Linked DNA regions of Homo sapiens: all the other regions are linked to region 4. Evidence: promoter capture Hi-C in 16 types of primary human blood cells and fetal thymus (Javierre and others, 2016). All regions are on one chromosome and are shown on one strand. Each heading gives the region's core, a stretch centred on a gene start or on the middle of the fragment in contact. The rest is flanking DNA. Distances are from core to core; before and after follow the strand shown. Region 1 overlaps MARCHF1 (membrane associated ring-CH-type finger 1). Region 2 overlaps MARCHF1 (membrane associated ring-CH-type finger 1). Region 3 overlaps MARCHF1 (membrane associated ring-CH-type finger 1). Region 4 holds the start of KLHL2 (kelch like family member 2). Region 5 overlaps MARCHF1 (membrane associated ring-CH-type finger 1). Region 6 overlaps MARCHF1 (membrane associated ring-CH-type finger 1). Region 7 holds the start of TKTL2 (transketolase like 2).

Region 1 (3,703 bases), core at 1,034-3,533, 1.6 Mb before region 4:
CTCCACTTCTCCATCCTTCTCTCTACCACCCATCCCCCTATTCACCACAACCTAGCTGCAATGGCAAGCTTTACGTTCCCTGAATTGCCAAGCTCCGTCCCTCCTCTTGTTTCCTGCTAGTGGCAGCCTCTGCCTAGATGGTCTTCCCTGCTTCTTTCCTGATCAATTCCTGTCATCCTTTGAGCCTTAGCCTGCTTGTCACTTACTTAGAGAGTTTTTGTCTCATCTCCCACAATAGGTGAAGCTTCCTTGCCATGTGCTTTCATAGTTCTTATCATAATTATAATTATATATCAGCTGTAAATTAATTTGTTTTGGGTCTCTGTTCCATATTAAATTATAAGCTGTAAGATGTTAGAAACTATACAAATCTTACTCACTATATTATTTTCAATGTCTAGAATAAAGCTTAATGCATAATAGATGCTTGAATACATATATGAATGAGGATTTTATGAATGACTATCCTATAAAACTTTCAGATAAACAAACCATTCTTATATTATTCACATGTAGAGTTTAATTCTTCTCACTGCTGCCCTCAATGGACATGAGCAGCCTTCTCTGGGTCACGTAATTCACACGAACATGCATACATATTTTATGAAGTAACTTCTGCTTTTATAAAAGCAAAGCAAAACATAACAAGTATTGCGCAGTGAAAATCTTCATTTGCTCTCATACAGAATCTAAACAGCTTAAATGATTAGGTATAATATGAAAATGTACAAATATATTTTTTTGTTTGAAATTGTCTCATTTATGCACACTAGCTTGGATATTCCTATAATTCTTTTTATGTAAGGTTATTTTGAAAATATATGCTGTTGAGTTAAAAAGAGCAAGAACGCTGCCACATAGCTAGAAAATATCCACATGTTGAAACCTTTCGGTATATGTTTATCAGTAAAGTTAATGTGGCCCCCTTCCCTACAGGCTCTTGCAACCCCACTGATACGTCCCTGACCTGTTTCTGTGTCCTTTGAGTCTTCAATTACCCTGCTGAGTCAAACAATTGGAGAACAAATTAAAGCCAACTGCAGAGAATGTTATTTTCTGATACAAAAATCTGACCTTAAAGAACTCAAGCCTTGAATATCTTTCTGTCAGGATGCCAGCAAATTTGCATTGAAAAGTCTAACATTTCACACAGTCTCACTCTTAATTCCCCCACTATTACTGTCATAACTAGAATGAGTGCAAGACTCAGCTGAGTCAGCCCCTTTACCAGGATAAATCATTATTCAGTTTAAAGGAAGGGGATATCTAATTGTACTTGGTAACAGCTTTCACACCCATGTTTACATCTGCATTATTCTTTTCATACCCACCTTTTCTCCTTTTATATCCAATCAGAAAAAGAACAATGTAAATAAATGTTAAGTTTTGAGGGTAGGTGTCAAACACGCACCTAACTCACTGCAAAAAGAACTATATATGGATGACATCAAGCCTTTCTCTACAGTGACTGACCTGCATACTTCTAAATTATCAGACCCATCGTCATAGGTGGCAGGAGGCTTCTGAACAGGGTTATTCACCTGGAGCCCTGCATCATTCATGTCCTTGCTGCCTTCTGGAACTCCCAGTATTTCAGTGCTGGAATCTGTTTCTGAAAATGTCTTCTTCATTATTTCATTTTTCCTAAGACTTTGCAAGAGCTGAGGATCTCTGTGGTGATATCTGCCTTTGCTCTTCTCATGATTCCTTGAGGATCTCTTAATTTCAGAGGACCCTTGAGTCAGAGAAGGGTTGCATTCTTGGTACCTTGTATGTTTTCCTCTGTGGAGATTTAAAGAGCAACTCTCACATTCAATCAGCTCTTGTTGCTCTTTACCTTTGGATCCCAGATCAACGAGCTCAATTCCGTTAGGAGTGGAAGACCCAGCTAAGTTTTCACACGGCTTATTATTATTTCTCCTCCTTCTTCTTGACAGTCTGAATTTAACCTGGGCTCTTCTTTTTGCCTGAATCCAATGACTCTCATCTGTGGAAGATGAATCTGAAGAATCTGTGTAAAGCTCCCTCCACCTGGGGCTTGAGATTTGAAGGTGAAAGTCATTTTTTCTCCCTCTTATTTGTTCTTCTGCAGCATGCTCATATCTCTCAGAGGCTTTTCTCCTCCTCCTAGGTCTTTGTATTACTGATTTCTTACCAGACTCCTTCCTAGCAGGGCTCAGCACCATGACAGGGGTGCAATACTCAAATGACTCTTCTGACATGTCATGCAAGATGGCAGATCTAGACAGAGCAGCAGGCAAAGGATGGGAAATGGGAATGGAGAGGAAAGCCATGGAAAAACAGAGAGAGAGAATGATGAAAATGACAGCATGGACCAGAAGTAGATAAATAAAGATCAACTGAAGAAAATGAACTAAATGAAAAAAAATAGCCAGTATAAATTTTCTATGGACCATGTAAAGCAGAAGCAAGAGACACACATTCTCAGAACAAACAACAAGAATACGAATATTGATCCAAAGAATATAGATTAAGATAATTTGTTCAGCACTTACCTGCAGATGTCCTGAGTGGATGGACAGACAGACAACCTTGACTGGCTCCTGGGAGCTGTCCCTGTTGTTGGGCTGCTTGCCTGGAGAAACAAGTTAGATAATTTGGCATCTTGGTTAAGGTAATACATGGTTGATATCTTGCTTTTTTTCCACATATTTAAAAAATTACAACAAACGTGGCTGCTGGTCATGTTGCTTATAATGCAGAACAGAGAATATAGGAAGTTTGAGGTTGGTTTTGCAAAAGTAAAACTTATTTGAGGAACCTGGAACAGCTGAGATGCTGCGCTATTTTGCTGTTACTTCATTTACGAGAGAGGAAGATGATTCCACAAGTTTCTATTCTATTTACTGTAATCATTTGAGTGGAATAGCTCAATTTGCTTTGGAAACAAATGAATAATACTTGAAGATCCTATGATACATGGACTAAAGCACTATTATGTGACAAGGATAATAATAGTCTGAGAAGTCTAATCAAACAGCCATTAGGTTGCTAGATACTTCCTGAAGCTAACATCAAGGCCCCATGAGATATTTGAAAATACTTTGTAATATTTAAAAGCCTGAATTTATTGCTATTAAAATTTCATTAATGAAACTAATAAAATATATCCCTTGCAACACTATTGGCCTTTCATATCTTTTAACCCTATAACCATACTAAGTCTGAAAATAAGAAAGCCTGAAACATCAGATTATTAGCATAAAGTTGAGTGCATTTCACTAAAGTCCTACCTTTGAAACAGTATTTTCTTCACTCTATTTGACTTTAACCTGTTGTATTTAATATAGGTTATGATGATAAATAAAAAACTAGAATGTAGGGATAATTTTCTATGTTCCAGGCATTGTGCTGTAGCTTTATTTACTGTCTCTTTAATTCTACAATAATCTCACAAGTGGAAAGTAATAATAACTAACAGTTTTGAGTGAATAATATGTGCTTATCAGTGTTCTAAGCCATTTCCATATATTCATTAATGCTCACAATAAATCTTTGTAGTAAATACTATAATTACATACATGTTACAGCTGAGGAAACTGAAAAATTGGGGCTGCTTCTCACTGATAGGTGGTAACGCTGAGATCTGGACCAGGTATCTGGCTCCACTATGGGTGGAGATCTGGGTCCAGATTCAGGCCTGTTTGACTGCAGAGATGAAATGCACAATTTCGTCACCAAG
Region 2 (3,551 bases), core at 106-2,605, 1.7 Mb before region 4:
GAGATGGGTTTGTGAGCATTTAGGTATTTGGAAATTGGTAATGTATGCATGATATATTTATGGAAACTATTGCACAAAAACACTCCATTTCTTTTTAGCCATGCCCAATGGAGTTTATTGTGCCTAAAATTTGCTGCAGTCTTGCACAATAAATGCTCATGATCTATACCTCTATTTATTTTATCGTCATCCTCAGCTGCCTGATTTCTCTCATCCAGTGCCTTTCTTAGTAAACTTTATCCAAAGTCCTATCTGGGTAGCTGTTTTCCAAACATTGCACATCCTAATATAGGTTTAAGCTTTAGCACATGCTATTCCTCTGTTTAGAGTGCCGCGCTCTTTACAATAAACTTCTACTAATCTTTCAGAACCCACTCCAGGGAGAAAAAGGTGCAATCTGTCATGAGGTTGGCAAACACAGCATTCGTGCCCTAATTACTACCAACACTCTTTCCTGCTAATCCCTATGATAGCTTCATGGTTCCTAACACCACAATCTAGGTCAACTTCTGGAGTTGGCATGAGAAAAAATCTTTTTGCCATCTGGCCCAGAGGAAGAAGATGCCTTTTCACAATATTGCAAATTCCCTACATCGTAGTCCAGGAGAAACCCTATTAATGTTAACTAATTAAATGCTGTTGTTTGGAGTAAAATAGAGTAACTCTGAACTTCTTAATAAAACTAGGAGAAAGACTGACGGTTTCATGTCTCTCCCTACCCAAGTCGCTATTTAAAAAAATTAATTAGTGTATCATGGAGTTAAACTCTTTGAAGGAACAGATTCAATTATCAATATATTTACTTAAGAGAAGATGCTAAAAGATGTTAGAAAACAAATCGTCAAGAAAACAGACCTTTGATTTTAGAAACTTTAGAGTACGAAAATGGACTATACCAGGCATTTATCATTAATCAGTGTCTGTTAGTCGTATACAAATGTTTCCATGGTCCCTTTCTCCTATAGACTTCTTTGATCTTAAGGATAGGAATTTTAAAAATAGAAGTATGCTACTTGGATTTGATTTATTTATACAAATGCATTTGCAACGAACACGTGTTCGATAATAGCACTGTTGTTATCTAGTGGTAATAGTGGTACTGTATCATGTATTCCAATACTCTCCAGAAACATTTTCATTTTAGGATAAAAAATACAGAAATAATTACATACAATTATGAGATGAATTGCTTTATACTTATTTATAAATTTCCCAAGTAACTTATAGACAAATATAATACTTTAAAGTAGTAATAATAATTTTTGACCATTAGTGCAACTTTTAAAAAATGTTGTTCTACTTTGACAGCACTAGTTCCTCATCTAAAGATTTCACAGTATCGTTCATAACGAAACATACGTTCCACACTTTTAACATATTCTAGGTATTCCTGCATATATTATTCATTTTTGGAAAAAAAATTGAGGGGGGTATATAAAAGAATCATTTTTCTTATAAAAAAGTTTTTAAAGAAAATATCAGGCTGATACAATACAAATTGTTTTATTCTTGATTTTTCTGGTGTTCCAGCAAAATAACTGAACTAAAAATTCAGAGTTCAAAGGCCTTTAAAGACCATCTATTTCAATTCTCCCTTCTTCTCCCCCTTTTGCTATTTCATGCCAAAGGTGAGCTTATTACCCAATGATCTTGACCTAGTAATCTTTGATAGTGTTGAAATTTGATTTGTGTATTGCATGGAAATAGCAGTTAACTTGCTATTTTTATTTAAAAAATACTCCAAGGCAAAGTCTTCATAAGTGATTTAAAGAGTTCTGAAGAATAATCAGGAGTATGTGATGATTCTAATAGTCCCAGATAAGTGGCAGCACACATTTATACATGGCTGGACGCCTGTGTCCATTTTTCCTGTATGCTAAGTAACACAGTGGCATCAAACGGTAGTTAGTAATAAAAAGAGCTAAATTATTCTCTATGCAGAGAGTCCATGCATTTGGAATATAGAAGGGCTTTTTTTTTTTTTTCTTAAGTTCCTACTTGGCTGTCTTCATCTATGCAAGGAGAACAATCATCTGAAACACTGACTCAGTGTAGACCATAGGTTCACCACTGGGGGCAGTTTTGTTCTCTGGGGGACATTTAGCAGTGTCTAGAGACATTGTTGATTGTTGTACCTGGAGTGGGGTGCTTCTGACTTTTATTAGAGGCCAGGCATGCTGCTGGACATCCTACAATGCACAGGACAGTACCTTCCAACAAAGAATTATTCAGTTCATAATGTCCATAGTGCTGAGGTTGAGAATCCCTGCTGTGGAAGACAATAACTTACGTCTCTTTATTGGGAAATTTGCAGAAAGGATTTGGAATATGAGCAAGACATCTTGCAGTTCTCCAAATTCAAAAGGATTTTTGCTGTAAACTTATATTAAGCAGTAGTTTCAATGTGTTTAGAAAGCTTTAACCACAGACAGACTGGAGATGAAATGTGCTTTATTTCCCATTTTTAGGGAAATTCTCATGGACTACATCCAGCTTTCTCCTCTGCTTAACCAAACTAGCAGCTGTTCCTTATACATGCCTGGAAGTTTTCCATTTCTGAGCCTTTGTCTCCGATCTTTTTTCTTTCTGTGTTTTGCTTCCCTGCTTCTATGTGTCTACTTGTCCCACAAAACCCATCTTAGAGGTCATTTCCAGCTGGAAATAAGTTTTCCCACTGTTACACTTCCATGTTATTTCTCCGTGTGCAGTATGAGCTCACTTTCTAACATAAGCATTTTTACTGTGTCATGCTATAATCTTGACGAGCACAGAATTTGTCTGGGCTGGACTTTGTTTTCCATAGTTCCTTGCTCAGTAGGTATTTCAAGGATAAATGAAAGCTTTTACAACCCCTCTTCACTGTCAGTAAAGCTATGCTTTAGATGGTAGACAATCTAAAGAAAAGTCCACTCAAGTTTCACCTCTCTTTCCAGAAACAGTGACCAAAGCCTATAATATACCTGGGAATCTGAGCCAGGGGGAAACAGTTGCCATTTTCTCTGCCCTTTTTGGGAGACTCAGCCTGATCCCTCCACTTTCCTTCACAAGGTATCTCTGAATCAGTTTCCCCTGCCCACACCATCCTTCAATATGTTCCTGGGAAGTCAAATCTCCCACAAAACCCCTCCATTAAGTTTAGAGTGCAGAGCACCCCAATCCCCACATACAAAAGCCATCTGAGTACAAACTTACTGTCCAAATGACCATCTTTAACAGACAGCCTGCTCTTTTGCTTGCCTTCATACAAACTTACTGTCCAAATGACCATCTTTAACAGACAGCCAGCTCTTTTTCTTGCCTTCAAATAAGTGGACACGATTTTTTTCTACAAAATAAATTACTGTTGAGTGGTTATAAGGATTGTATGTGGAAAACTCACTTTAAGGACATCTTGAGAGGAGATGCTAAAATGGGGCTAAATGGATTTTTCAAGAATGTTTTCATCAGGAAGATGTACTTGCCTCCTTTTATTGAGACACAGCCAATTGTCTTCTTACATTCTGTTAGACTAGTCAGTTTCTATGCTATTGTTAGCAAAGACAAAAGAATGT
Region 3 (3,724 bases), core at 1,019-3,518, 1.5 Mb before region 4:
ACATGTTATATAAAAACTAACCCAAGATGGATTAAAGACTTAAATGTAAAACCGAAAACTGTAAAAACCCTAGAAGAAAATCTAGGCAATATCATTCAGGACATAGGCACAGGCAAACATTTCATGACAAAAATCACCAAAAGCAATTGCGACAAAAGCTAAAATTGATCTAATTAAACCAAATAGCTTATGCATAGCAAAATAAACTATCATCAGAGCAAACAGGCAACCTACAGAGTGGGAGAAAATTTTTATAATCTATCTATCTGACAAAGGTCTAATAGCCGGAATCTACAAAGAACTTAAACAAATTTACAAGAAAAAAACAAACAACCCCATTAAAAAGTGGATAAAGGACATCAACAGATGCTTCTCAAAAGAAGACATTCATGCAGCCAATAAACGTGAAAAAAAGCTCAATGTCATAAAAGATCATTAGAGAAATGCAAATCACAATGAGATACTATCTCATGCCAGTCAGAATGGTGATTATTATAAAGTCAAGAAATAACAGATACTGGTGAGGTTGCAGAGAAATAGGAATACTTTTACACTGTGGGTGGAAATGTAAATTAGTTCAGCCAGTGTAGAAGACAGTGTGGCAATTCCTCAAAGACACAGAACCAGAAGTACCATTTGACCCAGCCATCTCATTACTGGGTATGTAACCAAAGGAATATAAATCATTCTACTATCAAGACCATGGAATAATATACAGCCATAAAAAGGAAAGAGATCATGTCCTTTGCAGAGACATGGATGGAGCTGGAAGTCATTACCCTCAGCAAACTCATGTAGGAAGAGAAAACCAAACACTGCATGTTCTCACTTCTAAGTGGGTGCTGAATAATGAGAACTGATGGACACAGGGAGGGGAACAACACACACTGGGGCCTGATGGTCGGGGGAATGTGGGAGGAGGGAGAACTTTAGGAAAAATAACTAATGTGTGCTGGGCTTAATACCTAGGTGATGGGTTGATAGGTGCAGCAAACCACTATGGCACATGTTTACCTATGTAACAAACATGCACATCCTGCACATGTACCCTGGAACTTAAAATAAAAAGGATCAAGAAAAGAAAAAAAAATGATTTAGCTGGATATATCATTTTATATTAACAATTTATAAAATCTTTTCATAATAGTATGCTGTTGTTCTCTGGATTTTATTGTTTTCATTGAAAAATATGGTATTAGTTTATTTAGAGTCAGCCATCTTTCTTGTTCTGCTCTTCCTCATTGTCTTTTGTGTATTGCATTCACTACATTTCTCTAGTCTAGATTTTTACTCAGAAGGTATAAATGTTCCTAAATCTAAGGATTCATGATTTTCATGAATTTCATTAAACACTGTTATCTTAAAAGTATACATCTGATCTTTGACAAACCTCACAAAAACAAGCAATGGGGAAAGGATTCCCTATTTAATAAATGGTGCTGGGGAAACTGGCTAGCCATATGCAGAAAACAGAAACTGGACCCCTTCCTTACACCTTATACAAAAATTAATTCAAGATGGATTAAAGACTTAAATGTAAAATCTGAAACCGTTAAAACCCTAGAAGAAAACCGAGGCAGTACCATTCAGGACATAGGCATGGGCAAAGACTTCATGACCAAAACACCAAAAGCAATTGCAACAAAAGCCAAAATTGACAAATGGGATCTAATTAAACTAAAGAGCTTCTGCACAGCAAAGGAAACTATCATGAGACTGAACAGGCAACCTACAGAATGGGAGAGAATTTTTGCAATCTACCCATCTGACAAAGGTCTAATATCCAGAGTCTACAAGGAATTTAAACAAATTTACAAGAAAAAAAAAACCCCATCAAAAAGTGGGCAAAGGATATGAACAGACACTTCTCAAAAGAAGACATTTATGCAGCCAACAAACATACGGAAAAAAGCTGACCATCACTGGTCATTTGAGAAATGCAAATCAAAAGCACAATGAGATACCATCTCGCACCAGTCAGAATGGCGACTATTAAAAAGTTGGGAAACAACAACAGCTGCTGGAGAGGATGTGGAGAAATAGGAATGCTTTTACACTGTTAGTGGGACTGTAAATTAGTTCAACCATTGTGGAAGACAGTGAGGCGTTTCCTCAAGGATTTAGAACCAGAAATACCATTTGACACAGCAATCTCATTACTGGGTATATACCCAAAGAATTATAAATCATTCTACTATAAAGACACATGTACATGTACGTTTACTGCAACACTATTTACAATAGTAAAGACTTGGAACCAACCCAAATGCCCATTAATGATAGACTGGATAAAGAAAATGTGGCACATATATATGAAGGAATACTATGCAGCCATAAAAAATAATGAGTTCAAGTCCTTTGCAGGGACATGGATGAAGGTGGAAGCCATTATTCTCAGCAAACTGACACAGGAACAGAAAACCAAACACTGCATGTTCTCATTCATAAGTGGGAGTTGAACAATGAGAACACATGGACACAAGGAGAGGAATGTCACACACCGGGGCCTGTCGGTGGGTGGGGGTCAAGGGGAGGGAGAGCATTAGGACAAAGACCTAATGCATGAGGAGCTTAAAACATAGATGACGGGTGGATAGATGCAGCAGTCCACCATGGCATATGTATACCTATGTAACAAACCTGCACATTCTGCACATGTATCCCAGAACTTAAAGTAAAACTTAAAAAAAAAAAACTGTAATTGTTTGACTTTCAAAAAGTTGCGTTAAAGCACATGTAATGAGAAACTGGTTTATGATCACTTGGAAGATTTGTATAGTTTTATAAAACTCAATTAAAATGTCTGTTTCAATGACCTGTATTCTGCCAGACTTAATCACAGACGGATATTAAACTTGTCAGAATTTCTTCAATTCTCATTCAAGCCTGTGAATAAACACTCTGTATGACACTTATTTTGAGCCTATTAAAGAATCCAAATTCAAAAAAATTCCCATTTTTCTCTGACTCATGTTTCCCCATTCTTTCTCATCTATTATGTAATTCAAAGTAGACCTAGGTTATAATTTTCACTCTGATTCTTCCTCTGTAGACACATCACCTTCAGCTCATTGAGGTATTATATTTCTTTAGGTATTTACACTTTGTATTCCTAAAAATTTGATAATCTTGGTTGTATTATCACTATTTATTTAATTGGATGCTGTTTATTGACTTGTTACTGTGGAAATTTAGTTGTCTTTCTGATTCTTCCTGAACTCCTCCCTTGCCCATCCATCTCTTTCTTCTGTTCTCCAAATAAGATTGTATAATAATTTGGCTACACGAATATTAAGTCACCTGCTATGCTAACTTTTTGCTACTAGCTGTCTTTTTGCTTTTTGCTTAATTTTCTATGATCTTCCCTGAAATTCATCCCTCATCTTGCTAGAAGTTATATTTTCTCTCCACACTCGAATACATCAGAAAATCTATTAATTTTATTTTGTTTTTCATAGTACTTTCCTCTGGAGCCTTCTGTTCTTCTGTGATCTGAAATTTTGGCTTTTTAGGCATGATTTCAAGCTGTTGCTTTGCCCTGACAACTTTCTTTGCCATCATTCTGGGGATTCCCTTTGTGTCTCTCCTATTTTGGAAGCCCTTTTTCCTGAATCCAGTATCTTCATTTTTCTAGATGCTTTTCTTTTTTTCAAAAAAATACAGATGTCAGTATCAGAGAACGGGATGCAAAATTTTGATACTTTAAAAAGTTTTTAATAGCTTT
Region 4 (3,500 bases), core at 23-2,522:
CGGCCTCCCAAAGTGCTGGGATTACAGGCGTGAGCCACGGCGCCCGACCTCTGTCCTTCTTTTTGTGGGATATTTTCAAACAAATCCCAGAAAAGTCATCCTTTTAATGATCAGATCAAGCTACTCACCACTTTCTAATTGCTTCTAATCTCAGTAAAAGCCAAGTCCTTTATCACGGCCTGCAAGGCCTGGGTGATCTGTGATTACTCCTCGCCACACCCATTCCTGCCGCCGTCCTCCTGACCTCACTCTGCTTCATTAGAGGGTCTCCCACCCTCGCGGCCCCAGCAAGCATCATCTGGAAAGCTTGTTAAAGCACACGCTGCTGGGCCCCACCCCCAGAGTTTCTGGTTCAGTAGGGCTAAAGTGGGACTGGAAAATTCGCATCTCTAACAAGTTCGCAGGTGCTACTGCTTCCAGCGGGCATACTTGGAGAACCACCAGCTGCACTGTTCTCCTTCCCGTTCCTCAACAAGGCAGGCAGGATCTTGCTTAGCAGTCTCCACGCTGCTCTTCCCTCTGCCCTAGGCATTCTTTGCATTACTCAAAGCCCCTGTTATTCCATCTCTTTAACTCATGCCTTTTGAGAGGCCTTCTCTGACCACTCTTTCTAAAATCTCTTTCCCTCTCCTCATCCTCATTTATGTTTCTTCATGGTAAGCATCACTTACTGTTTCCGTCACCCCGTCTAGATGGACAGCTCCACAAGCAGAAAGACTTGGTTTTGCTGTCACAGCCGCAGCACTAAAACCTTGCTTAGCAGGTGCTCACTTCACTTGTCCAAGGAATGGCTAGCATACTGAGGAGGGAGAGCCTGCTTCCTGCCTGGGACACTGGACAGGCAAATCACTTCTTCTTGCCTCAGTGCCACCCTTTGTAAGGACACTGGTTGGTTATGCCTACCCTTCCCATCTCCCTGGGTACAGGCACAAATGAAAAGAATAACGTGTACACGCCCGCGAAGCAGAGCAGCAAGTGGATACCGAGCATTATTACGCCGTGCGTTCGGCCGCCCTTTTTCTGCACGGAGAACCCCCTCCGCTCCCATTTTCCAGCGCCCCCGTCCCGGCGATCCAGAGACCCGCTGTGGGCGGCCGCCGCCCGCGTCCCGGCCTGCGGGCCAGCGTCTGGGCACGCCCGCCCCGCACCCGGCTGGCGCCCGCCCGCCCGCCTCCAGAAGCAGAAGCGGCAGCGGCAGCGGCAGCAGCAGCAGCAGGAGGAAGGGGAGGCGCCGAGGGAGGGGTACTCGGCCGCCGCGGGAGGCCGCATCGCAGTCCCGTCACAGCGTCGGCGCCGGCCGGGGCCGAACCCGGAAGTGGCCGAGCCCGCGCGCCCGCCGGTCCCGTCGCCGCCGCCCCGCACTCGGGCGAGCGCGGGAGCCGCGCAGTAGACGGAGCGCGCCCGGCCGAGCGGGCCATGGCCGCGGGGGCCGCCGCCGCAGGTGGTGGCGCGCGGTGAGGAGAGCGCGGCGCCCCCTCCGGGGCGGATGGAACGCGGCTCGGCGGGCGGGCAGTGCCGGCGTCCGCGGCTGGAATGGTGCTGGCTGTGTTGGTCGGTGCCTGCGTTCTGAAGCCCGAGAGGAGCCACAATGGAGACGCCGCCGCTGCCTCCCGCGTGAGTGAGCGGGCGGGCGGGCTGCGCCGCTGCGGATAAGCGCGCCGCTGCGGCGCGTGTCGCCGGCCGCGGGCGCAGCTCTGGGGACAGCCGCCGGGGCCGGCGGGAGGTGGGAGATGCGGGGCGTGACGAGGCGCTGTGCCCGCAGTCCTGAGCGGACGCGGACGGAAACTCAGCCTGGCCAGGCGGTGACTTAAAACGCTGCCCAGGATTTCTGGGGAAGGGTCTTCCCCATCTCGGGCGGATAGAAGATTCGGGGTGGGGCTGTGCATGGGTGACCCTGCAGGTCCTGTGTGTACCTCCCTGAAATGCATGGGCACCTGGTGCCGAGTTTGCCTACCCCTTTATAAGAGATCAGGCTAGGATGCACTGAGTCCGTTGAAAAAAGGAAACTGGAAAGTACCAGTCACCCGCTGTCTAAATGAATTGATCTTAGGTTGCTTGATTCCCCGAATTTCTAACAAAATTAATATCTGAGGAGCTTTTGCATCACTCTAAATGAGCGGCGGCCGTTCAGGGCATGTGACCTCTTTTACCTGGCACTGCAGAACGTTTTATCCAGAAATCAGCATCTTCTGTTTCGTTCGTACCTCGGGCAAATTAGTAGCGTATCGACCTGCCAGGCACAGGTGTCTTTTTTCTTTGGTACCCAAGTACATTCAAGATCACTGGCAACAGAATTACTTTCTAGAAATAATAGCTGAAACATTATGTAGAAGACATTATTGCATTATTCAGAACAAGGGTTTTTTTTTTAAATTTTAGTTTTTAGTTTTAAAAACATCTTGGTAAAAGTGAACTGTAAATACCCAGGAGTTTCGAAAATTTCAATTTTGGTTCCCTCTTCTCTTAGGAAGGAACAAGAGTCCTTTGAATCTGACTTTTCAAATCGCAGACAAACCTCATCCTGAAGAATGGTTTACCTTTTCATGAGAGCTTATTCATGGAGGCTTGTCGTTCTCCGGTCAAATTTGGCAAGCTTCACTCCATGCCGATTGTACCGCACCAGTCTCTTGTGGTTATTTGGCAGAATTCCAGCCAAAATAAGGATACTTGGCTTGGGTTGAATAATTTTTTGATGTTCAGCCCTTTTAGGAGAGCTAATGGGATTCTGGAACGACAGTTTCTAAAAGTGCGTTTCAGAATTTTTAGCTTGAGTGGAACAGGTCGTGGAAATCTAGGGGGTAGATAAGACTCTTGAATTGGCCTTCCTGGGCTGACAGAAGCAGGGGCTTAGTCACCTCTCGATAGCTGTGGCTTTGAGGGCTCTGAGATTTGGTCATGTTCTTCAGCAGGCTGGAGGAAGGCACCTGAACCCCTAGGAAATATGATGGTGGATGGTTCACATCAGCAGCATGAGCACACGGGGGTCTGCCCAGGCTCAGAAGCACTTAAAGCAGGATATGCTAGCTGTATTTAGCCAACATATGGTATATAATATGTAACATGTAGGTATGCTATCTGTAGTAAACCTGCCTTCTACATAAGTTCCTGCAGTTCGTTTTTACTTTTGGAACAGAGGGAGCTAAAGGAAAGAACAAGGGAATACTTAGAATGCAGGTGAAAAGAAGGGTGTGGGAAAGCAGCCTCTGGAGGGAGGGAGGGAATAGAGACACAGATGATTTAAATTGAAATAATAAAAAATAGAATTGATGTATGCATTGAAACATTGATAAACTGACTCTAGGGTAGATCAGCTAATCATAATTTTGATGACCAGCGCCATTTTTGGCATTGAGATTCCATCAATAGTGCTGGAACAATGAGAGGCTGAGATATAATGGAAAACTTGGAATGCCAGCATGGATGAAAGAATTGTTAAAACTCCTTTCAATCAGGGGTGGCTAAAGTTGGTGAGACTTTTTCATTGTTTCTGTCTATTTAAT
Region 5 (3,565 bases), core at 452-2,951, 1.7 Mb before region 4:
CAAAATCCAAGAAGCTACCCAAGAATGGATACATGAAAAAAATGGCTCTTTTCCTCAAAAGCTAATTCACTTGGATTTCTATACATGAAGACTCTTTTACTTTTCAAAAACATTTTTGGGGTTAGCTGATACAGTATTTTACCAAGAAGGGCTCACATTGCTTTGCAGTATTTAGACTAGTACTTGAGACACACCAGTTGAGTAAAAAATAGAGGTGTGATAGCAGGGAAAATGCAACTTATAAATCCAAGCATGGTTGAAATATCATTTTTAAGGCTTTAGAAAAAGGTGCATTTATTTAAAGTAATAGTAAGAGATATATATTGTACTGATATGCTTGTCACGTTAGTTTACAATGTGAGGAATACGCCACTAAGAATTGTGACTCAGTGGTGCTGCTGGATGCATGAGAGAGGTGTTAACAACTGCCAGATGAGAAATTGTCCAAATGCAAAGGTATTAGTAGAGTCAGAGGCCAAGGGAACATAGAAGGTGTTGGAAAGAACAATGGAGAGCAGAGAGAGCTGGGGTAGGAGCAGGAGGCCTGGGGTGGTGTGGAGGGAGAGGAGTACAATGTGGTAGTTAGGTCGAACAGGCTAGAAGCCACATGGTCAGAGAGGCTTGGAGCGAAGCAACTAAGAACTCAGACTCCTGGGTTAGGGAGACTTGGGTCAGAGACCCCTGTCTGGCTTGGGTCAAGTAACCTAACCTCCTAATGCCTCAGTTTTCTCATTGGTAAAATCAGGATGACAACAGTGTCTCTTGTATAGAGTTTGCTGGAATTATATGAGATAATCTAGTTAGCACATAGTAAACAGGGAAGTAAACCAGGCATAAATATTCTAAAAATAGTGTGACCAGTAAATTCAAAGCTACCAAATTATTTTTATAAAACAGATAAGCCATTTTATGTTCAGTCAACTAAATGATGATTAAGAATTTCTCTACAAAATATATGCACATTACTTATTACATGCATATGTAAATATATATGAGCCCAATGTTAGATTACCAAAATAATTTTTCTTATAAACCTTGTCTTGATCTCTCACTGGTTTCTTTCAAGATTTTCATGACAGATGGGATTTCCTAAAAGTTTTAAGCAAGATATTTGTAATATAGAAAAAAAGGTGCTGAGTAAAATCATCCACTAGAGGGAGTAATGATATCACGCATAATGATGATATGAATGGAAAAAAGAGAAATGGAAAAATGTTTGTATATCTGTCCTGAGGGTAGATATAATATGTGGGATTTAGGCACATTTGCAGTGGAACTGTTGGGATAAAAGTTAAAATTGCAAATTCCTAAGCTTTGTTCCAGATTTATATCTGGGGGTGTGGCCTAGGAATCTGCATTCCTGGCAGGCACTCCGAGAGATTTTTATATATGCTGAACTTTGACAATTACTTCCCTAAGGAAGGAAAAGTTCAGGGACATATTTTAGAGTGGCATTGTAATATCTGACGGTTTTTCACAGAGTGAATATACTTTCACCTCCTTCCATATCCCCCCAAAAAACTCACCTAAATCTGAGTTGATTAATATCACCATGTAAGAACACAAATTACTTGAAAGTTTAATTAATAGATGCATTTAAACAAAGTTCCTTTAAAAATATTGAATCAATACTTGGTTGTCTGTTTTCTCTCGGAGGTTATGGTGAAAGATATTTTATCACACATTCTGAAAGAGAAGTCAGTATATTACTGCTTCAGGCATGTTGAACCAGCAGAAAATCTACTGAGCTGTGTCCATGAGGATACTTAATTATGGATTGTGGCTTCATAAAGAAAACAAAAGGAATAATTGGGTTACATTTCACAGTGGCATAGTCTCTCTTCCCCAGAGGTTGAAACCCTTGCCGAGCGGACTCTTGGATGACACTGCCATTGATGATGTTTTCCCTGGAAGCCCATTTCTGTTGTGGGCTCTTCGCCTCTTACCTCTTCAGTGAACAGCTATGGCACACGTGGAATCTGCACAGGTCTGTGGTCACTCTCTGTGCCTAAGTGATCATAGCCTTGCCGTTTAGGAGACAGTGCTCGTGTACTAAGCAGAAGCACAGACACTGGGAAGATTAAAAGAGAAAAGCTTTTAAAAATACCCAATTTTACCCCATCATTTTCTAGTTGAAGAAACTGAGGCCCAGAGCACTGAGTTGACTTACCCAGTCATTATTAGATGACATTATTAGATTTTTTTTCGTTCAGGAGCTAATTATTAAAGCATCACAATGTATCGGACATTGTTGTAGGATGCTAGGGAAGAAGACAGCCAAGATTTCTGCTTTGATGAAGCTTATATTAGGGTCCCAATTGTGGAATTTTGTGTAGTTGTTAAAATAGGGAACTGTGTAATTTTCCATCAATAAGAGATAATAGGTTTTGATTTCATAAGTGCTTCTATCCCTTTCTCAATTCTGTTGTGTATGTTTAGAAATGTCTTTCTAGAATATTCCTTTGGGTGGCAGCAAATAAAAAGAGAATCTTTTTGGAACCGTCTATTTGTATCTACCCACAGTAAGCTCATCTACTGACAATCCATTGTTGATGCTTATTCTCATGGGTCAAAAAAATTCTTACATCCTATTTGCACTCTTTAATAGCAGTGTCACATCTGAACATTGTATTTAATGTAATTGAGTTGATTTTTTTTTTTACTCTCGAGAGTCTCTTAGCCACATATACACTTGAAATAAATCATATATATACGATTTATATATAAATAAAACAGAATATATATTTGTACATATATTCTACTCCAGTTTAAATGAGAGCCTGTGAAACTTGAAGTATTGGTTCCAGTTTTGGATATAATAATACTTTAAAAAATAGTGTTTTAGTTACTATATCTAAAAATCCATTTTATCAGTACTTTGATATCAAGCATGATTAATTGGCTCAATATATTACATTTGAATTTGTTTTTGGCACCATACTGACTCAGCGTTTCTTAAGAATTTTGTCCTAAAACTGAAGATTTTTTTTTTTTTTTAAAGAGAAGATTCTTTTGGGGTATAGAAATTTCTTAAATTGTATACAAAATATTGTGTGCATTTATTTTTTTCTGGGGAAAGGTCCATGATTTTCAATGGATTCTCAAAGAAATCGGAGACATTTTCCAAGTTAAAGTCCTTGCTTTAAACTGCTCTCCCTTGAATTGATTTAATAGCGATAGCAGGGAAGGGTTGGAGGTATACATAATCTCCACAGGCGGGAAATGAAACTTGTGGTTCAGGGACTCGGTATGTTTGGAAATCAAAAAATGACTTTGCAACCACAACTGGCCAAATTTCCTCATTTACAGCATTTAGGATGAAATCCCAAATGTTGATTCTCATCCTACTGGGTGATGGGAGAAAGTGTAAAATGCTCATTTGTGTTTACATGGCAATATTCAACTTTGTTTAATTATTTTGCTGTATAAGCTGTCCTATCCTATCATCTCCAAATACTGTTTTCCTCTAATTAGACAGCAGTTGGTTTGAACCAAAGAAAGCTTCAGGGGGACTAAGAATCTCATTCAGTTCCAAGGATACCAGAATAATTTGTCTGGGTCTTTG
Region 6 (3,570 bases), core at 1,036-3,535, 1.6 Mb before region 4:
AGCTTCTATTTAAACATTTACAGAGCACAGACCAAAAAAAGCCAGCTTAGTCAGATCATATGGCAATTCTCAGAAGTTGTTACCAATGACCAGTGTTTTGTTTATGTTTCGGGAAAATTCACTTACAGTGAAAGTGAGAAATTGTGATCCTTTTATATACCATGAACTCTTTAATTTGCATTTGAGGAACTGAATTGAGGTGTAACAATTTTATACCCTATCTGAGCAGCAGAGGAAGTCAAGCAAACTGATCTGCAGTGGAAAGGAGAAGTAACATACTTCATAAATAGAGAACAAGATGGACAGTAGTTAATATCATTCAGACTAACAGCTGTTTGCAGCTACTCTTATTGACATGGAGACAGCAAGCAATTTTGGACTGTAAACAAAAAGGCATTATAAGCCAGATTTCTAAGGTTTCCTTAACAGAAACGAAGATAAATATCCTAAGCCATCATTCAGCCTGAGATTTAAAATACCTTGAAAACTCAAGTTCAAAATACAATCATGACATAAGAATAAAAATATTTTACCAACAGATAATACCATTTTTGTAATCATAAGTTTTGTCATTCTGAATATGTACTCTTTTTTACATGTGCAGACGAGTGACAGTTCTTCATACATATGTGATTTTTTAAAAGTGTTTTGTTTTCTCAAAGGAATATTTTCAACTCAAAAAAGCTGCTACATAGCATGACTTCCTGAGTTTAATTTCATGCCCTAATTTGTCACCACTGACTTGGTCAAAACCTCAGACCATCTGCACAGAGCTGTAGGGAATGATCAACAACAAAGACAATGACATGGCAATGTCCCTGGCTTTCCTAACTCTATTCCTGGAGCTGATCCAAGAGTCGCAAGTAATCAGCCACATTTTTTTTTTTTTCACCACCAGACATCACACTGATGGAAAACAGTGGAGAAGAAGATAATGATCACCTTGCTTGGTCAATAATGAAAGCAGAGGAGGCCAAGTCTTATTTGAATTCACAGACATTGAATTCTGCAATGGATTGGGAAGATTCTATTGGAATTGCTTCTCTTGGGTGTCTCATCCCCTCTGGAGATGGTTCGATGCCATTGATACTAGGACTTTAAATTCTGCTTGGGACTGAGGATTCCCACTGAGATTCTATTATCATCTAGCCTAGTGGTTCAGTCTCATAGTGGGCCGGAGCCTCTTTGAAGACTATCTGAGAGGTCTCCATGGGCTCTTGAAACACATTAAGATTCCCCCATTCCCTCTATTGATGTGTGTAGCCCCTAGGAGTCCCAGTCAGTATATCTAGCAATCTTAAGATCAGCTCAGACTGTCCAAATCCTCCAAATCAGGAGAAATCAAAAGCTGGATTGCATCTTTTAGGATAATCCCTTCCCTGTTAACCATCGCTTTACTGCCCTCTCTATACTCATTGGTTAGCTCAGAGGACCATGTATTTCTGCATAAAGGAAATGAGTTCCCCAGTGCCATTTATCTTTCCAGATCCTACCTTACAATTTTGATGACTTGTGGATAAGTAAATAGATAATATATATTGAACGAATATCCGAAGGTTATGATTTTCTCTACATTTGCATATGTCATAAATATTCATTTTATATCAGCTTTGAGGTCTTTTTGGGTGCATTTGTAAGACTGACAAAATTAAACTAGAGATATTTCTAAGCAAATGTGCTTACAGTTATTAGGCTAAATTTTTGTTAGCTGCATACATTGAAGTAAAAAGGCAAAACAAAGGGACAGATAATAAAAACTCATTTGGCTTTAATATGTAGCTATAATCAAAGAAATATATATGGTCAGATACAGGAGAAGGCTTTTGTATATACATAATAACAGCTATCAGAAAAATTATGCAGTTATAACCTTTTAGCCTTTTTCATTTCTGCATGTGGCAGAAATTCTTAATTCAAACTGATTTTCTGATCTTTTTTTTGTGATGGCTAGGTGTTTGAATTTTTCTAAGCTCATCCTCAACCATGACTTCCTTCCAATTTTGTCCACTCATTAATCTTATCTGGCTGAGCATTACATCAAAGAAAGTCTCAAGTTGCCATGGATAATTGACAAAGCAGGCACTTTATTTACAGATAACCAAAAATGCATTGAATTAGAAATACGCCTTTGCATATGAATTCTTCTACAAAGGCAAGTAAGTACAAAATACTGATGTTTTACAGCAGTTCCAACCACATTGAGTGAAGAATGATCAACTTTTATTCATTTATTCACTCATTCATTCATTCATTCAGTCAACAAGTAATTTGTTGCTTATGTATATATGCAAGGTTTTATAAGGTCCTATGGTAAATATAAAGATGAATTAGTCTCAGTCTTTTTCCTTTAAGAAGTTTATATTGACAGTTTATGCATCAGACAACTGCAAAATTAGACAGGATACATTTAAAATGGGATGTGTGCCATGTCAAGTGCTGTTGTATGCAAAGGAGTGAAAGATCATCTCAGATTGGGGACCGGGGGAGGGTAGAAAGTTTAATGGAAGATGTGGCATGGGAATTGGAATTGAAGCTGGGGTAGAATTATGGCAGATGGAGAAGGATGTTGGTAGAATATACTAGGCATAGAAGATGTTTTCAGTCAATGCTTAGAAGTAGGATTGACTGGGTAATTTGGTAACATTATGTGGCCAAGTATGAAAAGAGCATGAAAGTTCTTACTCCAACTAAATACAATATTTAGTATATATTTAGTATATTTATTTAGTATATACAATAATACCACATTATTATTATATGATATAATAATACAATTAATTACTTTAGTAGGGAGATATCATGCTGAAAAATAAAGATTACACAGAGCCTGGTATTTCCCTCAACCAGTGCCAATACACACACACACACAAACACACACACAAACTAACTTTAATTGTATTTAGTTGAGTAGGAACCCACTACATAATTTAAATAAAAAATTAAGATTACATTAAAAAATGAGCAAAGGAGCTAAAAAGACATTTCTCCAAAGAAGACATACAAATGGTCAACAGCTATATAGAAAGGTGTTCAAAATCACTAATCATCAGGGAAATGCAAATCAGAGTCACAGTGAAATGTCACCTCGCACCCATCAGAATGGCTATTATCAAAACACAAACACACACACACACACACACACACACACCCAAACCCAAACAAGATAAATGCTCCTGAGGATGTGAAGAAGTTGGAGCCCTTGTACGCTGTTAGGAATAAAAACGGTGCAGCTGCTATGGAAAACAGTGTGGAGGTTTTTCAAAGAATTAAAAATAGAAATACCATATGAGCGAGCAATCCCACGTCTAAGTATCCAGAAGAATTGAAATCAGGACCTCAGATAGGTATCTGAACTCCCATGTTCATTGCAGCATTATTGACAAGAGTGAAGCTACGGAAACAACCTAAATGTCCATCAACTTATCAATAGAGAAAGAAAATATGGTATAAGCCAGCGAGTGGCTCATGCCTGTAAACTCAGCACTTTGGGAGGCCAAGGCGGGAGGACTGCTTGAGCTCAGTTTGAGAGTGAAGCTACGGAAACAACCTAAATGTCCATCAACTTATCAA
Region 7 (3,894 bases), core at 1,249-3,748, 1.7 Mb before region 4:
CTCAGGGTGTTCTTTCCTGAATATCTCAGAAAAGGTGGAGTTCATCGTGTCACCACTCAGAACAATAACTCTTTCATTTGCACGGCCCAGTTTAGCCAGAGCCAAACCATATGTTTTCTGAGTAGCTATCTTGTCACCAACTTTGTAAGCAGGTGGGGAGGTCATTTTTATATCTGTGATGCTTATTTGAGGTGAGTCTTCCACAGGCGATTTTGGTATGAGATTCTCATTGGTCTGTATCTGACTCTCAATTAATTTGACAATTGCATCTGCTCTTTCTTTTGGCACTGGCTTTCCATGCCAATTTTCTGCATCCTCAATATTTGGAATACCCCGACCTTTGAAGGTCTTGGCAACTATAGCAGTAGGCTTGTTCTTCACTTGACTTGCTTGCCAAAATGCTTGGCACAAGGCCTCCACATCATGGCCATCCACTAAGTAAGTATTCCATCCAAAGGCTTCACAGCAATTCTGGTAGATGTCTGCGCCATGCTCAAGGGGTGCAGGGCCACTTTGTCCCAAGCGGTTCACGTCGAAGACCGCCACGAGATTGTCCAAGTTGTAGTGGGAGGCAAAAGCAAAAGCCTCCCACACAGAGCCTTCTGAGGATTCGCCATCTCCCATAAGGCAGAACACCCGGTAGCTGGCCTTGTCAAGGTACTTGCCAGTATAAGCCATTCCACATGCAGTACCTAATCCCTGACCTAGGGACCCTGTTGCCACGTCAACAAACGGCAATCGGGGGGTAGGGTGTCTCTCCAAGTCGCTGTGAAGTTTCCTCAGGTTCAGCAAGTCAGATTCACTGATGTCACCCACCTCCACCCAAGCAGCATAGAGGATAGGAGCAGCATGTCCCCTGGAGAGGATGAACCGGTCGTTGTCCGGGTGTTCTGGGTCTGTCTGTTTATACTTCATCGTGTGGAAGAAGAGGACAGACACGACCTCCGCTGCACTGCAGCACGACGTGAGCTGGCCAGAACCAGAGGCACACGTGGCCCTGATGGAATGGATCCGCAGGCGGTTGGCTGTGTCCCGCAGCACCTGCACGGTCTTCACGTCGGGCTTGGCGTCGTTGGCCATCATCTCTCTTTTGTCGGTTTGGCAAAGCAAACGGCGCCGCAGCACCCCCACAACCCACCGCGGCAGTGCTCTCACGTGACCGCCCCGCCCTCGCCTCCCCTCTGCCTGAAGGCCTGAGCTCAGCCACCAGCCGGGGCGCCCACAACGGAGCTTCCCGCGAGACTGAGGAAACGGAAACGTTGGAGTAGCCTGCACCCTCTGATGTGCACCGTTCCCTCTCCCTGTCCACGCCCAGCTGAATGGATTTTTAGTATTTACTTTGTCACGTGCATGTTCAACATTAGGAAGCATAATTAAATTTTTTACCTTTCCCTGTGTTATAAATTCAAGACTAGACATTTTTCTGTGTATTATAGGAAGCGATTTGTCAGGCTGTGCTTTTTTAATGCATTAACACTATATCCGAGTCATCACTCTTTCATATCAGAACATTAATAGAAAGGATACAAAGTCACTTTCAATCTGACCAGTATGGCAATGCTATCTCAACAGAGACTTTCTCAGAGCAACCAAATATCTGAATCTCAGACTTATAGAAAGAAATGCAATGACTAATTTGACCAAAATTTATAGGAAGAACAAATCTGAAACCACCCAATTGCAGAATAGAATTGCAACTCCAGTGTGCCGTAAAGTACTATTTCTGTGTTGAAATAATTAGAAGGCCAGTAGGCTGAGGTAGCTTCAGCTCCATGAGTTCCTACCTAAGGAAAGGAAACCCAAATCAGTGTAAATGATAAAAAGGAAATTTAAGCTTAATCAATCAGAAACTGCCAGCTAACTTCTAACTGGGGACTTTCCACTGGGATGACCCAAATAAGTCTAGTACTCCACTTTAACCAATCAAATATCTTTCCTTTGCTTCCAAATTCACCCTATAAAAGCCTTCTCCTTGGCTCCTTTATCAGGAGCTACCAGATTCATGAATCACTGAATGGTCAAATAAATGCTTTAATATTTTAATGTGCCTCAGTTTATCTTTTAATGACTATTACTACAAATCATTTTTAAGACAAAGTTACTTACTTTAAAAAACTAAATTTGTGGGCCGGGTGCTGTGGCTCACACCTGTAATCCCAGCACTTTGGGAGGCCGAGGCAGGCGGATCACAAGGTCAGGAGTTCGAGACCATCCTGGCTAACACGGTGAAACCCCGTGTCTACTAAAAATACAAAAAAATTAGCTGGGCGTGGTGATGGGCACCTGTAGTCCCAGCTACTCGGGAGGCTGAGGCAGGAGAATGGCGTGAACCTGGGAGGTGGAGCTTGCAGTGAGCCCAGATTGTGCCACTGCACTCCAGCCTGGGAGACAGAGCGAGACTCCGTCTAAAACAAAAAAAACTAAATTTGTGCCATTGAACTCTTCTAGCAGGCCAAGGTTATGGTTTGTCATCAATAAAACAACAATTAAAAAAAACACAATGATAATATATCATACCTTCCCATATTGCGATGTTAAACCTCTTGGTTTCTTGAGCAATAATTCTTACCTTAACTTCACGTTAAAATTAGGGCACATAAGAAACACAATGCCTGGTTCCATCCCAGAAAAATAGAATTTGAATTTCTGGACCTGGAGTCTGGGAAGCTATGTTTCTAAAATACATCCATTGATTATAATGGGTAGTCAAGGTTAATAACATAATCTGGAGATAGTCTGAGACCAGTGGTTCTCAACATTAGTTGTAGTTTAGAATTATCTGGGAAGTTTTAAAAACATCTCATGTCCATGCTGCACTCCAGACCAATTATATCAGAATTTCTAGGCAATAGATCTAGGCGTCAGTAATTTTAAAATCTTCCCCAGGCAATTTCAATGTTCAGTCAGGGTTGTAAACAACTAACTCAGGGGGTGTTGTTACTCTTTATACTTATTATCTCTTGCATTATATCTCAGAAAAATATTTCAAATGTTATTTGCTATTTCAACTAGTTCTATCATTTTAACTTTTAAGGACACATATTAGAATAAATAGTAATAATATGACACTACTGATTTTAAGACTTGTTGCAGGAATGTTGGCATTGGAGAAGTTCTTAAGAGGTCATCATGTATCCATAACTCTCCATGTCCTTTGCAAATTAAAGCTTGTTTATCTTTTTAGACAAATAAAGGAGGAGGAAATACAAGCAGACTAGGCTAGAACTGGTAGTACAGAAGATGGGAATTAGAGAAAAAATAATAATCACAGTAAAATAATAGCAAACTACTACAGGCTGACAGGAAAGTAGTTAATATAAACACAGGTAGCTCACCATTATTTTGGCCAAAAAGAACTCTAATAAATCCACACAATTAGTAAACATGATAGTACAAAAATGATTTATGAGGCAATGTTCCCATGAATAAAAACATGGGACTTCTTAACATTTCTTTCCAAGTTCCCACATTCTTTCACTCATTTAAAACATTGCACAGCTATTTCCTAAAGTATTAAATAAAAAAATTTTAACATTAGCAAAGGTCAATTTTATTAAGAGAAGAATGTAGTCTTGGAGATTTAATACCCTAGATAGTGAGTGTGAATTTCCCTCTATCATTCTGTGAGACCGTGTGAATTTTTTATACTATATAGAAAATAATATTTTATAAATTATGTGTAAAATACTTATAAACCATTCTGAGATTTTGTAAAAGGAACTCTGGAAAGATATATATATATATATATATATAAATATATAAAAGTATATATATAGTAAAATATCTGGAAAGATATACTATATATAAAAGTATATATATTATATATAAAAACTCATATCAATATATGTAATATATATTAAGTTTATATAAAATTAATTTTATATTAATATGTTA

Evidence for each region. Contacts are between HindIII fragments. The CHiCAGO score rates a contact against its expected background, and 5 or more counts as called.
Region 1: a contact is called between a fragment that was not itself captured here and the fragment with the promoter of KLHL2 in region 4, in 6 of 17 cell types (M0 macrophages, monocytes, total B cells and 3 more). The highest score is 15.5, in M0 macrophages.
Region 2: a contact is called between a fragment that was not itself captured here and the fragment with the promoter of KLHL2 in region 4, in 1 of 17 cell types (monocytes). The highest score is 7.8, in monocytes.
Region 3: a contact is called between a fragment that was not itself captured here and the fragment with the promoter of KLHL2 in region 4, in 1 of 17 cell types (M1 macrophages). The highest score is 5.1, in M1 macrophages.
Region 5: a contact is called between a fragment that was not itself captured here and the fragment with the promoter of KLHL2 in region 4, in 2 of 17 cell types (non-activated CD4 T cells and activated CD4 T cells). The highest score is 13.0, in non-activated CD4 T cells.
Region 6: a contact is called between a fragment that was not itself captured here and the fragment with the promoter of KLHL2 in region 4, in 5 of 17 cell types (M0 macrophages, naive B cells, total B cells and 2 more). The highest score is 11.4, in M0 macrophages.
Region 7: a contact is called between a fragment that was not itself captured here and the fragment with the promoter of KLHL2 in region 4, in 1 of 17 cell types (total B cells). The highest score is 5.7, in total B cells.

What each region holds. Positions count from the first base shown.
Region 1 is chr4:163,610,798-163,614,500 of GRCh38, forward strand. MARCHF1 (membrane associated ring-CH-type finger 1) reads right to left here. Exons shown (of 10, transcript NM_001394959.1): 6 at 2,517-2,596; 7 at 1,474-2,241. Among named protein-coding and RNA genes, the nearest start is that of TMA16, 120 kb to the left of the region's middle. RefSeq lists an enhancer at 991-1,040. The HindIII fragment of the contact is 3,754 bases long and covers 407-3,703 here.
Region 2 is chr4:163,533,783-163,537,333 of GRCh38, forward strand. The region is part of intron 9 of MARCHF1 (membrane associated ring-CH-type finger 1); the gene reads right to left. Among named protein-coding and RNA genes, the nearest start is that of TMA16, 41 kb to the left of the region's middle. The HindIII fragment of the contact is 2,117 bases long and covers 298-2,414 here.
Region 3 is chr4:163,657,890-163,661,613 of GRCh38, forward strand. The region is part of intron 5 of MARCHF1 (membrane associated ring-CH-type finger 1); the gene reads right to left. Among named protein-coding and RNA genes, the nearest start is that of TMA16, 170 kb to the left of the region's middle. The HindIII fragment of the contact is 5,960 bases long and covers 1-3,724 here.
Region 4 is chr4:165,206,289-165,209,788 of GRCh38, forward strand. KLHL2 (kelch like family member 2) reads left to right here and starts at 1,273. Exons shown (of 15, transcript NM_007246.4): 1 at 1,273-1,614. The coding sequence starts at 1,589. RefSeq lists an enhancer at 894-1,394 and a silencer at 925-1,574. The HindIII fragment of the contact is 2,287 bases long and covers 305-2,591 here.
Region 5 is chr4:163,553,903-163,557,467 of GRCh38, forward strand. The region is part of intron 8 of MARCHF1 (membrane associated ring-CH-type finger 1); the gene reads right to left. Among named protein-coding and RNA genes, the nearest start is that of TMA16, 61 kb to the left of the region's middle. The HindIII fragment of the contact is 782 bases long and covers 1,311-2,092 here.
Region 6 is chr4:163,591,640-163,595,209 of GRCh38, forward strand. The region is part of intron 7 of MARCHF1 (membrane associated ring-CH-type finger 1); the gene reads right to left. Among named protein-coding and RNA genes, the nearest start is that of TMA16, 99 kb to the left of the region's middle. The HindIII fragment of the contact is 4,571 bases long and covers 1-3,570 here.
Region 7 is chr4:163,472,652-163,476,545 of GRCh38, forward strand. It overlaps TKTL2 (transketolase like 2), which reads right to left and starts at 1,103. Exons shown (of 1, transcript NM_032136.5): 1 at 1-1,103. The coding sequence starts at 1,083. The HindIII fragment of the contact is 1,333 bases long and covers 1,833-3,165 here.